Regions from separate parts of the Homo sapiens genome. Here region 2 is linked to region 1. The links are contacts of gene promoters, found by promoter capture Hi-C in human tissues and cell types (Jung and others, 2019). All regions are on one chromosome and are shown on one strand. Each heading gives the region's core, a stretch centred on a gene start or on the middle of the fragment in contact. The rest is flanking DNA. Distances are from core to core; before and after follow the strand shown. Region 1 holds the start of CLIP1 (CAP-Gly domain containing linker protein 1). Region 2 overlaps CLIP1 (CAP-Gly domain containing linker protein 1).

The links. The method cuts DNA at HindIII sites, captures the fragments that hold promoters and counts their contacts. A contact is called where the count stands out against the background at its distance.
Region 2: a contact is called between a fragment that was not itself captured here and the fragment with the promoter of CLIP1 in region 1, in 1 of the 25 tissues and cell types used here (liver).

Annotation. Positions count from the first base shown.
Region 1 is chr12:122,419,486-122,425,059 of GRCh38, forward strand. It overlaps CLIP1 (CAP-Gly domain containing linker protein 1), which reads right to left and starts at 3,184. Exons shown (of 26, transcript NM_001247997.2): 1 at 3,036-3,184. RefSeq lists silencers at 2,481-2,880, 2,901-3,250 and an enhancer at 4,360-4,459. The HindIII fragment of the contact is 23,258 bases long and covers 1-5,574 here.
Region 2 is chr12:122,269,643-122,275,216 of GRCh38, forward strand. It overlaps CLIP1 (CAP-Gly domain containing linker protein 1), which reads right to left. Exons shown (of 26, transcript NM_001247997.2): 25 at 4,396-4,520; 26 at 1,827-3,458. The coding sequence ends at 3,233. Among named protein-coding and RNA genes, the nearest start is that of VPS33A, 5.9 kb to the left of the region's middle. The HindIII fragment of the contact is 5,788 bases long and covers 357-5,574 here.

The DNA.
Region 1 (5,574 bases), core at 1,934-4,433:
GGAAGACCAGAAATCTACCTGTAAGTAATAACGAAGAACCAGGTGCCCAGTATGTGAAAGGTTCAAAGGTGCCTACCTTTGTATGGGCCATAAGAGAATCAACTCATCTCTTATACACCATCCACTGGCTTTCGAATCCCAGCAGACAGCACTTAAAAAGCAAGAATCGGCCGGGCACAGTGGCTCATGCCTGTAATCCCAGCACTTTGGGAGGCCGAGGTGAGAGGATCACTTGAGGTCAGGAGTTCGAGACCAGCCTGGCCAACATCGTGAAACCCTGTCTCTACTAAAAATACAAAAACTAGCCCGGTGCCGTGGTGTGTGCCTGTAATCCCAGCTACTCGGGAGGCTGAGGCAGGAGAATTGCTTGAGCCTGGGAAGCGGAGGTTGCACCACTGCACTCCAGCCTGGGCAACAGAGCGAGATGCGAGACTCTGTCTCAAAAAAAAAAAAAAAAAAAAGCAAGAATCAAACATGACTGAGTTAGTTCATGTCCCTTATGAGTCACATGGGATGTGACAGAGTGAATTTTAGCCACTAGGTAAAAAAAATTTTTTTTAAGATAAGGACATCAGGCCAGGCGTGGTGGCTCACACCTATAATCCCAGCACTTTGGGAGGCTGAGGCAGGCGGATCACCTGAGGTCAGGTGTGATCAGCCTGGCTGGCCAACGTGATGAAACTCCATCTCTACTAAAAAAATACAAAAAATTAGCCAGGCATGGTGGCAGGCACCTAAAATCCCAGCTACTCGGGAAGCTGAGGCAGGAGAATCGCTTGAACCCAGTAGGCAGAGGTTGCAGTGAGCCGAGATCACTCCATTGCACTCCAGCCTAGGCAACAAGAGTGAAATTCCATGTCAAAAAAAAAAAAAGAGATAAGGATATCAGATTCTAAACTCCTCAATAGGACAGAAACCAGATTAGCTTATGTCATGCTGAAGTGCAAGCTGGAGCTGAAGCAATGATTGAAAAAATAGGGAAGGGCAAAATCTTGATCTTCAGGCAAAATACCTACCCAGGGTCCCACCCGGTTTCAGTTTTCCCCTTTGAACTAGGTCTAGTGGGAAGATGTACTTAACTGCTTTCTCTGAACCTTAAAAATCGGGCACAAGCCTTTGGCCAAGCAATTACCCACTTCAACTTTGCTTTAATGTAGACCAGCCTTGGGGCCAGGTGCGGTAGTTCACACCTGTAATCCCAGCACTTTGGGAGCCCAAAGCAGGTGGATGACTTGAGCCCAGGAGTTCGAAATCAGCCTGGGCAACGTGGTGAAACCCCATCTCTACCACAGATACAAAAATTAGCCGGGCGTGGTGGCGGGCACCTGTAATTCCAGTACTCAGGAGGCTGAGGCACGAGAATCGCTTAAACCTGGGAGGCCGAGATTGCAGTGAGCTGAGATCACGCCACTGCACTCTGGCCGGGGGGACAGATTGAGGCTCCCTCTCATTGATTGATTGATTGATTGATGGATGGATAGACAGACAGACAGACTAGCCTTGCTTTTTGCCACAGATTCCCTATACTAATCGAATAACTAAGCACCTGAAGTCAGAATACCTGAGTTCACATGCTGGTAAAAGGTATTCTGACTTCAGGTGCTTAGCTGTATAACCCTGGTCAAGTTACTTGACCTTTCTATGACCCTCCTGCCGAATGCACATGACGACAGCACGCTCACTGGGTTAGGGTTGATTAAATGAAATAAAACACATAAAAAGCTAGCCCAGAGCCTGGCCACAAGATGCCTTCAATAAATGTTCATTGTTATAATTTACAGAGAAAAAAAGGCCCCAAGTCTGAGAAGCGACATGCCTGGGGATTCTTGCTAAAGGTTATCATTAAATCTAAAAGTCAAACAAACACATTCCTGACTCTGGGATACTCTCCTGATTCGTGGATACCATCGCTAACAGTAGTGACACAAATCAAATAATAAGAACAGCCAGAATCATAACCCTAATGACAGCAGTGGCCACAGCACTTAATACTTATAGAGCTGCTAGGGGCCACTGTCCTAAAAGAGGAAGAAGGCCAGGCTGCTGAATCACACACACACAATTACAGAATCTTCTCCACCCTTTGTTTTAAAAAACAGTTCACTGGCGCCCAAGTTTTGCTAAAAACAGGTATCTAAACCGATGACGGACAACGTGTAATTTCTTCATACCAAAGAGGTGGGGCTGTGCAGGGAGGAGGGGGTGGCGCTCGGCTCCTGCCAGATGGAAAAGCCACATGAAGTGGAGAAACAGCCGGATTCAGGATTCACCCCCGAATCAAAACCCGATTTTTGAAAGGCAGGACCTTCCAATTCGGGCAATCGCTAGGTTCTGCTTGTAAAATAACCTCTGAACAAGTGTCATCTGCCTTCCGCGCCAATCCCCTGCCGCGGTAGAAGGTTCGGATTACCGGGCAGCGGTGTGATTTCGGAAACCCGAGAGCGATCTGGCCACCTCCAGCCTTCCCCGGTCTCCGAGAATCACAGCCCCACTTGAGAGGAAAACAAAAGCCGGGGCAGCGGGGGAGGCCGGGCCAGGGTGCCCTCCATGCCGGATCGCGGGCGCCGGGCACCCGGGGCCTGAGGAATGCTCAGGTGACAGGCGCGGCGCCCGGGGCAACAGGTCCCGCCCGGCTTCGGCCTCCCGGGGTCCGGCCGATCCCACATCCGCCCCGGGGCCCAGGAGAGGGAGCGGGGCGCCAGGGAGAGAGCGGCGCCTGGGGCGGCGCAGGGGCAAGGAGTCCAAGCTCCATCTTGAGGCGGGCGGAGGAAGCGAAGGCCCGGCTCGGCGCTGACAGGGCCGCCACTTTTCCAGCTCCGGAGGAGCCCCCCAGGGACCCCCGGCCTCCGGCGCCGGCCACCCGAGACTCCCGCGGTCCCCTCCCGGACGGCTCCGGCGCGCGAGGCTCGGCCCCGCTCCCGGACGCCGGGCTTCGACCCCCGACCCGACCCTGGGCGGGCCCCGCAGGCCGGGAAGCCGGCAGGGGAGCAGGGGGTGCCGGGAAAGGGAGAGGGCCCGCGCCGCCCCCTGCTCACCTCCTCGGACGCCGCCGGTCGCCGCCACCTGTCCCACTGCAGCAGCAGCAGCCGCCGCGGCCGCCGCCTCCCGCCTCCCGGCTCGTCGGCTCGGGGCGGGGGAGAGCGTGACGCGCCGCCGCCGCCGCGGGGCCGGGCGGGCGCGCGCTGCCAGGAGAAGACGCCGCGCGGCTCCTCCCAGCGCTCCGCCGCCGCGCCCGCCCGGCCGGCCCGGCCGGCCCGGCCCCTCGAGTCCGCACCGGCCCTGCGGCCCGCGCCCGGCCCCGCGCCGCCCCGCCGCCTCTTTGTCTGCGCCCACCGCGGCCCCGGGAGGACCCTGGCCCCGGCGCGCCCGCCGCTCCGCCCTCGAACCCTCCCGAGCCCCGGCTTGGGGAGCAAGGTGCGAGGGAAAACCCACAGGCCTGCTCCGAGGGGCTTCTCGTCATTTCTGCAAAGTGTTCCCAGAATTTGCAAGTCACACCCAAGAGCCCCATTCAGCCTCGACCTCAGCCCGCTCTTTGGGGCTGATTCATTTGTTTGCCCTCCCCTTCCCGCCAGACAAGGGTGAGAAATCCTTTGAAACAGGCTGCAAGGCGCTTCCGAAGCAGGTTAAGTTGGGGATTGGGAAGGATCATCTCTGCCCTCGCCTCCCTCCAGGGAAAGACCCTGGATGAGGCGTCCCTGGAGAAAATGCTGAAAGGAACTGTAGAGCAGGTTAAGCTTGGGAAGAACTGTATCTGCTCCCCACTTCCCTCCGGGAACGACCGCGGGTTAAAAATCCTTTGAAACGATCCCAGGGTTTGCTCCGTTCGTTTGAGAAAAGCCCCTTTTATTCGCCCTGGCTGCTTGGACGGAAGCCCTGGTTAGTGTCCCATCCTCCTTCCCCCCTGGGATTTCCTTTAAAAGCTTTTGAAAGGGACAGGAGGGAAGGCTGCAACAGCCTGCTCGGGGCTGGGGTAGCAGAGGGCGGCCAGCATTTCACTCCCATGGACCATGGCAACCCCAGAAGCCTTACATCTCCAGGGAGGAATTTGCAGCTGTCGGGGAAGCCCAGGATTTTGTGGTGGATAAGGGGGCAGGGGCTTCCTCCTCCTTGCCAGTAGAAGAGAATAATCGGCGGGTGACCCCTCTAGCTGACCTTTATTCAAAGCACCGTGCTGCCTGGACCAGCAGGAAGAGGGAACTGCTCTGGTAATGCACGAAGTTCTGAACTATGTAAATTTGTCTCCTGGCCCCTCCTCTCCATTCATGTCTGAAATCCCTCGAAATGCTGTTACCTAATTCAACATCGCCCTAATTTACAGGCTGCAAGGTCAGGTGGTGGTGGTACTCCTGAAATCCCATATCCATATTCCTAATCTGAAAGGCGCGCCTCACCCCCTAATCTAAACAGTCTTCAGCTGTAATCAGCAAGCTGTGGAATCATAGATGTCATAGGATGAGGCACAGACCACTTCTAATGGGGGAGTTCAGCTAGGAACACTTATGGGCTTGTCTTTTCTTCTCTACTCAGTAGGCTGAGCCTGTCTTTATTAAAAATATTGTTTTGGGGCTGGGTGTGGTGGCTCACGCCTGTAATTCTAGCACTTTGAGAGACCCAGGTGGGTGGATCACCTGCAGACAGGAGTTCAAGACCAGCTTGGCCAACATGGTGAAACCCCGTCTCTAACAAAAAATACAAAAATTAACTGGGCATGGTGGTGCATGCCTGTAGTCCCAGCTACTCGGGAGGCTGAGACACGAGAATTGTTTGAACCCGGGAGGCGGAGGTTGCTGTGACCAGAGTTCAAGCCACTACACTCCAGCCTGGGTGCCGGAGGGAGACTCTGTCTCAAAAAATATATATATATATACACATGTATATATATATGTATATATATGTGTGTGTGTGTGTGTGTGTATATTTGCTTGTTCTCATGGGTTATTCTATGTCATTGTCATGTTCATCATTTGCTTATTTATTTATAATTATATCATTTTGTTCATCATGGAGTCTTGGCGTTAATTTTTTTTTTTTTTTTTTTTTTTGAGATGGAGTCTCACTCTGTCGCCCAGGCTGGAGTGCAGTGGTGCGATCTCGGCTCACCGCAAGCTCTGCCTCCCGGGTTCACGCCATTCTCCTGCCTCAGCCTCCCGAGTAGCTGGGACTACAGGTGCCCGCCACCACGCCCGGCTAATTTTTTGTATTTTTTTAGTACAGACAGGGTTTCACCGTGTTAGCCAGGATGGTCTCGATCTCCTGACCTCGTGATCCGCCTGCTTTGGGCTCCCAAAGTGCTGGGATTACAGACGTGAGCCACCGTGCCCGGCCATTAATTTTTATTTTTTAAAAAATATATCAGCCGGGCACAGCGGGCTGATCACGAGGTCAGGAGCTCGAGACCAGCCTGGCCAATATAGTGAAACCCCGTATCTACTAAAAATACAAAAATTAGCCGGGCATGGTGGCGCATGCCTGTAATCCCAGCTACTAGAGAGGCTGAGGCAGAAGAATTGCTTGAACCCAGGAGGCGGAGGTTGCAATAAGCCAAGATAGCACCACCGCACTGCAGCCTGGGCG
Region 2 (5,574 bases), core at 2,001-4,500, 150 kb before region 1:
AAAGCCTGTCTCTACTAATACAAAAACTTGCTGGGTATGGTGGCGCATGCCTGTAGTCCCAGCTACTCAGGAGGCTGAGGCAGGAGAATCGCTTGAATCTGGGAGGCAGAGGCTGGAGTGAGCCAAGATCGTGCCACTGCGCTCCAGCCTGGGCGACAGAGTGAAACTCTGTCTCAATAAATAATAGATAAATAAAAATTTAAAAAATTACCTGGGCATGGTGGCATGCGCCTGTGGTCCCAGCCATTCAGGTGGCTGAGGTGGAAGAATTGCTTGAGCACTGGAGGCGGAGGTTGCAGTGAGCCGAGATTGCACAACTGCACTCCAGCCTGAGTGACAGTGAGACCCTGCCTCAAAACAAGAGAAGCATGTTCAAAGGCATAGCACTCAATTGGTTCAGTATCATTTTTGTAAATATTATATGGACTTTTCAATTTGTAAGACTTCATGGACGAATAGATAGTTGGCACCACATGGTGCCACATTGATTTTTATCAGGTAATTATTTTTGTCAGGTAATGTGGGGTGATACAGTAATGGATAACAACTACAAGTACGTTATGCTAAATGGGTCATGAAACACTTTAAGAAGGACAGAAAGACATACCAAAAAAAAAATGAGAGACAGTGTCTCACTCTGTTGCCTAGGAGTGCAGTGGCACAATCATAGCTCACTGTAGCCTCTTAACTCCTGGGCTCAAGCAATTCTCCTGCCTCAACCTCCCCAGTAGCTGGGACTACAGGTGTGCACCACGCTTGGCTTTTTTTTTTTTTCGAGATGGAGTCTCACTCTTTCGCCCAGGCTGGACTGCAGTGGCACGATCTTGGCTCAATGCAAGCTCCGCCTCCTGGGTGCACGCCATTCTCCTGCCTCAGCCTCCCGAGTAGCTGGGACTACAGGTGCCCGCCACCGTGCCCGGGTAATTTTTTGTATTTTTAGTAGAGACAGGGTTTCACCGTGTTAGCCAGGATGGTCTCGATCTCCTGACCTCGTGATCCACCCGCCTCGGCCTCCCAAAGTGCTGGGATTAAAGGCGTGAGCCACCGCACCAGGCCTACCAATTTCTTAAAAACTTTAGTAACAAGACTGCAGTAGAAATTGCTATATGAATGTATAGGGTTTGCTCATTTGAAGTAAAACCATTATGACAAACCTGAGAATATCAATTTACTACCATTAGCAAAAAAGAATAACCATTTATTGGCTGGGTGAGCACTCCCAACACTTTAGGAGGCTGAAGTGGGAGGATCACTTGAACCCAGGAGTTCAAAACCAGCCCGGGCAACATAGGGAGACTCACTCTGTACAAAAAATTTAAAAATTAGCCAGGTGTTGTAATCCCAGCACTTTGGGTGGCCGAGGCAGGCGGATCACGAGGTCAGGAGATCGAGGCCATCCTGGCTAACACGGTGAAACCCTGTCTCTACTAAAAATACAAAAAACTAGCTGGGCATGGTGGCGGATGCCTATAGTCTCAGCTACTCGGGAGGCTGAGGCAGGAGAATGGCGTGAACCCAGGAGGTGGAGCTTGCAGTGAGCCGAGATCACACCACTGCACCCAGCCTGGGCGACAGAGTGAGACTCCGTCTCAAAAAAAAAAAAAAAAAAAAAAAAATTGGCCAGGTGTGGTGGCACTTGCCTGTAGTCCTAGCTGCTTTGGAGGCTGAGGTGAGAGGATTGCTTGAGCTCAGGAGTTGGAGGCTGCAGCAATCCATGATTGTGCCACTGTATTCCAGCCTGGGCAACAGAGTGAGACCCTGTCTCAAACAAAACAAAACCCACAAAACAAAAAAGAATAACCATTTATTAAAGTAGATACAGAACACTTGTTTGGCCAAATTTTAATACTGCTTTACATGTTTTCTGTTTGTGAAACAATTCGTATTACATTTATAACCAAAAATTTCAACTGGTACCAGATTGAATATTCACTGTCGAACACACAGTTGATAATCTTGAGGGGAAAATACATCAAAGGCATATATACAATTATAGAAGTTCTTATTGTACATGTAGCATGGAAGATACATTTTATGACTTTTTACATATTCTAGAAGACATTCAAATGAAGATAAATAGATTCAAACTGGTCGATAAACTGTTCAGGTGCTTTGAGGTCCTTCATTTTCTTTTTTGTGATAAGAAAATCCAGAATTATTAACGTTGAATTTCTCATCGTACATTCATCTAAAAACAGTAAAAAAACTTGTGAAGGGAGATTGTAGATTGGTTATTTAGGTGTTTTATACTGGCTTATTGTTAATTGACTGCTGGGGATACCTGCCAGAGAAGGAAAAAAAAATTGGAGAAAATTCCTCCAGTTATTTAAATCTGGTGAAGAAATAAAAGGAAAACAAACAAATGAAAATGGTTGCAAAGCCACAAGATGCTATGTCTGGCCTAGTCTGTTATGTCCTAATGATCATTTTAAGTGTTTTCTTTTTCAAAAAGGTAAATGTCCAAAAAGAAAGACACATTGTGTATGTTTTTTTCCCAAAATATAGATTTTTAAAAAATATATACATACAATATATAGAAGCTGAAATTATGCAAAACTAATAAACAAAACACCACAGTAGATTAAGTGGGTGCAGCATATAGATTATAAAATGTCCCCACAGCAGTTTGGGGGCTTGCCCCTCCCTTTACCTGCTTCATGATTTTATAATCACACCTAAGTATTATCAAGCCTGAAGTAAAGGCACTACTGATAACAGGTAGTGCAAAGAGCTCAGATATTTCTTTGAATAAGAATAAAATACTTTAAATGAGTAGATGAAAATGCAAAATGGCACATTTTTTCAACTCATTCCAGTGTCAAAGCTTAACCAAAAAATCTAAATATACAAATGCAGCCTGGAAATATCTTAGTGCAAATATGAAAAGTAACGGCATAATTTAAAGTTACTTAAATAAGGTATTGTGAGGGTAGGGGTTTTTCTACAAGGTCGGGGGGCCAATAAATGTAATGGCATCTGGTGCAATGTCTTCAAACGTAAAAATCAAGAAAACAAAATTCGAGGTGAAAACTCACCTACTAAATATTTATTATTCTAACTCATACGGGGAGACTAAAGGGCAATTTGTTGAAGATCAAAATATTTTCCTAGATTTGTTGACGGGGTTAAAAAATAACATGAGTTCTCCTGAAGTCTGCACACACAATGCTGGTGTTACGTTGTGTCAATGCGAGTGCGTCTGAGCAAGCCCAGTTCTCCACTGGAGGCTTCATCAGAAGGTTTCGTCGTCATTGCAGTTGGTGGCCCAGTGTCCAAACATCTCACAGATTTCACAGTATGGGCGTTCCTCACCCCGACTGCCATGGTGTGTGGAATGGGGAGGGTCCTCTGACATCTGTGCCTGGGTAGGACAATCCTCTGTGTCGTGGAGATCAAAGCAGTCACAAATGTCACAGAAGAGGCGAGGTTTCTTCTTGGACTGTTTCTCCTGATCATCACTACAAATGTTAATGTGTGAAATCAGAAAATTTATCAGAAGAAACTGAAGAGACAAGAACACTTGCAAAAAATTTAAAAATTAAGCAAGAACTAATTATGGCCAAGTCTGTGAGCTTCCAGTATAAGTAGTGCATTATCCCACATTTAAAGTATTTTTTTTATTTTTGAGATGGAGTCTCAGACTCTCACCCAGGCTGGAGTGCAGTGGCATGATCTTGGCTTACTGCAATCTCCACCTCCTAGGTGAAAGCAATTCTCCTGCCTCAGCCTCCCAAGTAGCTGGAATTACAGGTGCGTGCCACCCCACACAGTTACTTTTTTGTATTTTCAGTAGAGATGGGGTTTTGCCAAGTTAGCCAAGTTGGTCTTGAACTCCTGACCCCAGGTGATCTGCCCACCTCGGCCTCCCAAAGTGCTGGGATTACAGTCGTGGCCACCACGCCAGCCTCACATTTAAAATCTTCATGTCAAAGCATTTGTAGTCTCCTCTCACTCACTTGCCAGATTTATGGAAATCTATTTATGGCAAAGGAACCACAAAACATTTGTTTTTTTTTGTTGCGTCTTTTTACAATCCCCTAGAGAAGCTCACTTTAAAAACATATTTATTTTGATGAAACTAAGGTTCCAATCAGTATGGTTTTTTTTGAGACAGGGTCTTGCTCTGTCACCCAGGTTGGAGTACAGTGGCGCAATCTCGGCTCATTGCAACCTCCAGCTCCAAGGCTCAAGTAGTTCTCCTGCCTCAGCCTCCCAAGTAGCTGGGATTACAGGCATGCAACACTACGCCTGGCTAACTTTTGTATTTTTAGTAGAGACGAGGTTTCATCGTGTTGGCCAGGCTGGTCTCGAACTCCTGACCCTCAAGTGGTCCGCCCGCCTCGGCCTCCCAAAGTGCTGGGATTATAGCAATCAGTATGTCTTCATATGAAATACCTGTCATAATTGTTTAGGTCATCCCCGTTCCCATTCAGGGCTGCTTCTGACATCATCTCCACCTTCATCTTGAGGTCTTGATTCTTCCTTTGAAGGTCCACTATTACTGAATTTAGGAAATCAATCTGATTTGTTAAAAAAAAAATGTGTAAAATGTCAAGAATATATATAAGCTGGAGCATCAAGAAGTCATGAAGTTTATACCTTTAAGCTCTGGCGGCAAAGTGTGCAGAAGGGGCCAACAGCGGCTATTAGGAACCCATGCTTTTCACTCTCCCGGAGGACAGGCATGCTGAGATTGTGTGAGTAAAGAGCTGAACTTAAATGAGGCCATGTCTAGGTGGTAAGGCTATGGCAGTTTCTTTTACCCCCTCACACCTTTCAGATTTCTTCAAATGTTCATTACTGAGGAGATGCTATTTTATATTTTAAAAAAAAATTTAAATTACACTTCATTGAATGTTTCTAGGTATAACATGGGTAAACTTCATTTGTTTTGTTTTGTTTTTTTTTTTTTTTTGAGACGGAGTCTCGCTCTGTCGCCCAGGCTGGAGTGCAGTGGCAGGATCTCGGCTCACTGCAGCCTCTGTCTCCTGGGTTCAAGCAATTCTACTGTCTCAGCCTCCTGAATAGCTGGGATTACAGGCATGCACCACCATGCCTGGCTGATTTTTGTATTTTTAGTAGAGACGGGGTTTTGCCATGTTGGCCAGGATGGTCTCAAACTCCTGACCTCAGGTGATCCACCCGGCTTGGCCTCCCAAAGTGCTGGGAATACATGTGTGAGCCACGGTGCCAGGCCATGAATTAATTAATTATTTTATTTATTTATGAGATGGAGTCTTGCTCTGTTGCCCAGGCTGGAGTGCAGTGGCTCGATCTCGGCTCACTGCGACCTCTGCCTCCCGGGTTCAAGTGATTCTCCTGCCTCAGCCTCCCGAGTAGCTGGGACTATAGGCACGTGCCACCAAACCCAGCTAATTTTTGTATTTTTAATAGAGACGGGGTTTCATCATATTGTCCAGGATGGACTCAAACTCCTGACCTCGTGATCCGCCTGCCTCGGCCTCCCAAAGTGTTGGGATTACAGGCATGAGCCACTGTACCCAGCTGAAATTATTCCTAAACATCTAAATCTGTGGGTTGGTGGAGTGCTATTGATTCATGAAAAAATATAAG